Linked DNA regions of Homo sapiens: region 2 is linked to region 1. Evidence: promoter capture Hi-C in human tissues and cell types (Jung and others, 2019). All regions are on one chromosome and are shown on one strand. Each heading gives the region's core, a stretch centred on a gene start or on the middle of the fragment in contact. The rest is flanking DNA. Distances are from core to core; before and after follow the strand shown. Region 1 holds the start of FBN3 (fibrillin 3). Region 2 holds the start of LOC107985282 (a long non-coding RNA gene).

What was found. The method cuts DNA at HindIII sites, captures the fragments that hold promoters and counts their contacts. A contact is called where the count stands out against the background at its distance.
Region 2: a fragment that was not itself captured here is called in contact with the fragment with the promoter of FBN3 in region 1 in 4 of the 25 tissues and cell types used here (heart right ventricle, lymphoblastoid cells, spleen and 1 more).

What each region holds. Positions count from the first base shown.
Region 1 is chr19:8,148,078-8,150,970 of GRCh38, forward strand. It overlaps FBN3 (fibrillin 3), which reads right to left and starts at 1,515. Exons shown (of 64, transcript NM_032447.5): 1 at 1,372-1,515. RefSeq lists an enhancer at 1-672. The HindIII fragment of the contact is 21,800 bases long and covers 412-2,893 here.
Region 2 is chr19:8,239,986-8,242,878 of GRCh38, forward strand. The region is part of intron 2 of CERS4 (ceramide synthase 4); the gene reads left to right. It overlaps LOC107985282 (a long non-coding RNA gene), which reads right to left and starts at 509. Exons shown (of 2, transcript XR_001753859.2): 1 at 349-509; 2 at 1-100. RefSeq lists a silencer at 531-580. The HindIII fragment of the contact is 3,994 bases long and covers 1-2,893 here.

The DNA of each region.
Region 1 (2,893 bases), core at 265-2,764:
GGGTAGGAGGAAGATGGTAAGTCGTGGAAGGCAACAACCCCACTGTCCCTCTGTGACACAGATACCCCCACTCCTGCAATGCCTGGCCCCACCTGGCCCTGTGTCCCCTCGCCTCCACATCCCACGCCGGTCTTGCCTGGGCTGTGCACCCTTAGCCGCAAGACCCTTTTCTAACATCACACCTCCTCCAGGAAGCCTCCTCTGACTGTTCACTGCTCCCAGGTCAGGGCTGGATGCCTCCCTGGGCAGGGGGCCCAGGCAGGGGCTGGAACTTCCCAATGCAGAGAGTAACCCTGTGCCCAGCAGGGAAGGGACCGCTTCTGTGCCCATTTCACAGATGCACAAACTAAGGCCATCACACCATGAGTGAGGGGCTAAGCCGGAGCTTAAGCCCACGAAGAGAAGAAGGAGGGGAAGAAGATCAGGAACGGAACTCGCTCCTGCCCCCCTTGGCTGGGTCTTTCCTGGGCCATGAAGGACGGGAGGGAGAAGACCGGGACAGGAGACGACCGTTTGGAGGGTGGAGGCAAAATACTTGAGGGAGAGAAGCCAGACCAAGTGGCCTTCCTGTTCCATTCAGGTTCCAGGGAGGAAAGGAACCGGCCCTAGGTGGAGAATGGGCGGGGAGCCCTGCTGTGTGGTCTTGGCCACGCCCCTCTCTGGGCCAACCTGGTTGTCCAAAGGCCCCGGAGAAGGGAGAGACCCCTGTCAACGTTGGAGGGTTGGCTGGCTGGAGAGGGGCGCCCTCTTTTTCTTCTCAGTTGTCCGGGTCAGTCCGCACTCTGAGGCTCCGTGGACTCCAAGCAGCCTCGGGGCTTGCAAGCCCTCCTCCCCCACTCCCTCCGCCCCAGCCCCCTGCCTCGGGTCGGGTGGGGGAATTAGGTGGGGGGAGTCTCTGGCCTGATTTGCCTCGGTCCCCCCTACACACCGCTGCTTCTGCGAGCCACACCCTGGAGTTTGTGGAATGAATGAGCAGAGAAGGCGCGCCCGGCACGGGGTGTGGAGGCTGAGGGCCAAACAGCGAGGGATACCAAGCTTCGCCGACGGGGAGGGGGCGCCCCCGGAGCCCGCGGGGCGCGATCTCCACCCGGCAGGGCCCCCGGCCGCGACCACGCTTGGCTCCGCCCTCACCTGTGGGGTCAGGGGCCCCGCGCCCCGGCCGAGCCCCTCCCGCCGGGTCCCCGCGCCCCCACTCCCCACTGCGGCGGGCGCCACTAGAAGGCGGAGAGGGGAGGGGGCTGGGCCCGGGGCTGCCCGGCTGCGAACAAAGGAATCCTCTCCCCCTCCCCCTGCCGGCCCCCCCGCCCCCGCCTTCTCCACCCTTCAGCGCCCGCGATCTCGCCCCGCCGCTGGCCCCGCGCCTTCACCTACCTGCGAGGCGGCGCGCGTGGAGGCGGGCACGGCAGGCGGACGCGCGGGACTCAGCGCTGCAGGGCGGGCTCCTGCGGCGCCGGGGACCCGGGGCGGGAACGCAAAGCCGAGAGGCCGACCCCGCCGCGTTCCCAGCCCAGAGCTGCCACTCGGGGGGGAGTTGGGGGCGGGAGGAGTTGGAGGAGGGCGCGTTTGCACCTCTTAGCTCCCGGGGCGGGGACGGGGGGCTCCGATCCGGGGCGGGGAGAGAGGCTGCGGCTCGGGGGAGGGTCCGGGGCTCCGAGTGAAAAACTCCGATGGACTGGAGGGATGTGAGGGCGGGCTGGGGGCGCCTAGTAGGGGCTGCCGGGGCCGCGTTTTCGGATCGAGACTAAGGTGGAGGTGGGGCTCTGACTTTTGGAGGGCCTGGACGACAGCCTGGGCAGAGAAGTCCCGGGACTCACCTGGGCGGCCCTCTCAGGGCCTCCCAAGCCGCCACCCCCTCCCTCGAGCAAGGAGAATTGCGAGAGTGACGTTGGAAACTCACCTGGCTCTTGGAGCCTGGATTCTTAACTAGGCTGAGATCAGGGGCCCCTAAATATGTTGACAAAACATTGGGCAAAGCTGTATTTCCCAGGGAGAAGGGCCCAGGTTTTTCATCTGGTTCTCAAAATGAAGAGGTTAACAATTCAAACGGTGTAAACTTTCAAATCTCTTTGAACCTGTTTGTCCACCTACCAAAGGGACCAGACAAGAATTTTGGCTCCCTATCTGTTGTCAGTACTCCAAACAAAAATTTCTAGGCTTTTCCACTACCTTCATACCTTTGAGAATAGACCCTTAACATGGGGATCTGTCAGAAGCTGTGCGTTGGGCCTGAAGCTGTTACTCCATCCAGCAAACTCCTACGCATCTGTCAAAGTCCAGTTCAAAAATTCCCTCCCTATCCGCAAATTGTGAGTTTACTCTATTGAACTCCCAAAGCTGATTGTGCTGAATATCCCCCCACCACAGTACTTCCGGAATCTAATAAATAAGTAAGCCCAGTGGGCTTGAAACCAGGAGTTCGAGACTAACCTGGGTAACATAGTGAGACCCCATCTCTAAAAAAAAAAAAAAAAAAAAAATTAAAAAGAATTAGCCAGGCCTGGTGGCATGCATCTATAGTCCCAGCTACTCAGGAGGCTGAGGCAGGAGGACTGCTTCAGCCTAGGAGGTTGAGGCTGCAGTGAGTTATGATTGTGCCACTGCACTCCAGCCTGGGCAACTGAGCAAGACCCTATCTCCAAAAATTGGAGACCCTGTCTCCATTCCGGAAGTGCTATGGTGGGAGTATATTCAGCAAGTCAGCTTTGGGAGTTCAATAGGGTAAACTCACAATTTGCAGGGAGGGAGAGGATTTTGTTTATGTTTTGTTTTGTTTGTTTTTTGAGACAAAGTCTTGCCCTGTCACCCAGGCTGGAGTGCAATGGCACGATCTTGGCTCACTACAACCTCCACCTCCCAGGTTCAAGCAATTCTCCTGCTTCAGCCTTCCGAGTAG
Region 2 (2,893 bases), core at 293-2,792, 92 kb after region 1:
AAGAGGGTTGAAGGAACTACACAGGATCAGGAGACAGAATAATATGGTGGCCTCTTTGGTGGTAGTCTGAGAAGTCTTCTTGGAGGAGGTGACATTTGAGCTGAAATAAGAATGATAACACAGTCAGACATGTATGTGACTGTCTGGGGTGCAAACATGGTACAAGTGAGCTTGGTGAGTTGGAAGCCCAGCAAGCAGCAGTTGCTATGGATTAAGCTGGGGAGGCAGAGGTGGGGAGGCAGCAGGGCCAGAATGTAGAGGGCAGGAATGTGTGCAGAAATAAGGGGCTCAGGTAAGGCGGAACCTTGAACTTGGGGTCCACCTTGGGGTCTTTGGGGGGAGTGGTACCTCAACCGGCAGCATCTCTGGTCACTAACACCCTGTGGGACCTCTGCTCAGAGAGGCTCAGAGTGGAAGAGACAGGTCCGTCTGGAAGGGACAGCCAGGACCCGGTGCAGAGGCAGGCTGTGGTTATCTGCAAACAGCCCCCTTCCTTCCAGCATGTCACGTGCTCCCGCCTGAGCCTCTGGCCGCAGGAATCAGGTGACCCCAGGCAGCGGGCCAGGCTGCAGGGGCGGGTGAGTGAGTCAATGTATGCAAGTGTGTGTGTGTGTGTGTGTGTGTGTGTGTTTTCATCTCTGGGAGGCCCAGACATCTGGGGTCTGAATTAATTGCCTTTTTCACAACCATGGACAAGTCCTGTATTTCCAGCTAGATTGAAAGCAAAACAAAACAAACCTATGTGCATAGCTCTGATCTGCTGAGCAGTGCCAGGGTCCTTGGGGGTTCGGGGAAGCCGTGGGAACCAGTCCTTCTCACTCAGACCCCTGAAGAGGGGCAGGGATCCTCTACTCATGCCCCCTAACCCACCTCCCGTGTCAGTACAAAGCCCCATTCTCTCTCTTTCCCCCAATCTGGGGCTATTTTTAGCCACTAAGAAGGATTATCAGTTTGGTTCCCAGGTGGCAGGGGCCAAGCTGGGAGTGGGGCCAGGGAGGCTTCAAACAGCAGCCAGGCTTGGGGGCGGGTGGGGTGAGGGGAGAAGAGGCTGGTCACACTGGCCCTGCCACCCACGCGGTGGCTCTGCAGATGACCCTGAAGCTGCTGTCGTCCAGCCCAGCCCAAACACTTCAGCTGCAGCTTTAAGGGAAGGTGGCAGGGGCAAGGAAAGCTTCCAGCAGCCTTAGGCACCTCAGATGCTGGAAACCGTCCTAAGGGCTTGGAAGAACCATCTAGAAGCCTCCATAGGCCAGCACCCCTTCTTTCCAGACCACTCCCCATCCTGCCCCCACCTCCTGTCTAGCAGTAACTATCACAGTCTAAGCTGTTTTTTGGGGGGTTTTTTTCCGAAACAGGATCTGCTCCGTCACCCAGGCTGGAGTGCAGTGGTGTGATCACAGCTCACTGCAGCCTCAAACTCCTGGGCTCAACCAGTCCTCTCACCTCAGCCTCCTGAGTAGCCGGGATTACAGGTGTGTGTCACTATGCCCACCTAATTTTTAAATTTTTTTGTCTTGCTATGTTGCCCTGGCTGGTCTCGAACTCCTGACCTTAAGCAATCCTCCCACTTCGGCCTCTCAAAGTGCTGGGTGTGAGCCACTGCACTCGGTCCTCTAAATTTTACTAGGTGCTCACTCCACCTCAGGTGCCATTCCGAACCACTCCATGTGGAAGAGGGGCTATTGTTTGTTCCATTTTACAGATAAAACTGAGGCACAGATAGGCCACGTTCCATGCCTGGTAAACGGGTGAGGCAGGAATCAGGAATCAGATCCGTTGTGATATCAGCATGGAGTGTTTATAAACTGCCCGCCTGCCCTGAGCCTCACAATAGCCTGGTAGAACAAGGAGGGAATCTAGCTGTACCCATTTTTCAGATGGGACAACTGAGGCCCAGGAAGACAGAGGATGACAGGGAACAAACAGAAGAACTGGATCCAAAAGAGAAAAGCTAGAAATTGAGGAACACATCCCTCAGCCTCATTTCCTCCCTTCCCTCAGGAGAAGTTGAGCCTTGCTGGCCTGAGGTGCCTGGTTATAGCCATGCCTGAGCCCCTCCCATATGCCAGACTCTGCCTCAATGCCCCAGGTGCAAGGTCTCTGAGCTGCTTAACCACCCTTCAGGGAGGGCACCTGTCCCACCAACAGGTGACGAAATTGAGGCTCCCAGGGCTTTGAAGCATTGCAGCTAGGACTCCAGCCAGTCTGCTGGGCTCCAGACCCTGTTCTTTTCTCAAACCACAGCATCTTTTATTTATGCTTTAAGAGGGAGAAGAGGGAAGGGACGAGACAGAGACAGGTTGGTGAGGTTAGTGAGAGAGTAGGACCTCTGGGGCCAGACCTCTGCAATCAGGGCATATCAGTCTGAAGCCTCCTTGGAGAGCTCCCTGGTTTAGAAAGTGCATCTGTTCCCCTTTCTGTGCCACTCAGGAAGCAATGGGCATGATTCAGCAGAGGAGAGGAGAGTTTAGAACTGGTTATGCTTCCTTCTCCAACCCTCCCTGCAAAAACACTGGCCAGCTCCTGACATCACAGTAAGACAGGGTTGCGGGAGGGTGCTTTAACAGGATCCAAAGCAGGGCAATTGGGCTGCTTTCAGGAGGAGGTGACAACTGAGCTGGGTTTTGAAGGATGCATAGGAGTTTGCCAAACAGAGAAAGAAAGCGTTTAAGCTCTTCAGGGCAGAGATGTTGCTTGTTTTCCCCACCATTTTGTGTCTTCAGCACCCAAATACTAAATGAGCATTCTAGGCAGAGGCCAGTATTTGTAAAGGCTAGGATGTGTGAAACGATATGGTCTGGTGGGAGCAGAGTATCAGTCAGTAAACTGGTGGGCATTGAAGCTGGGCACATCAGCAGAGGCAAGGCTTGAGATTGTGAGAAGCCATTGCTCC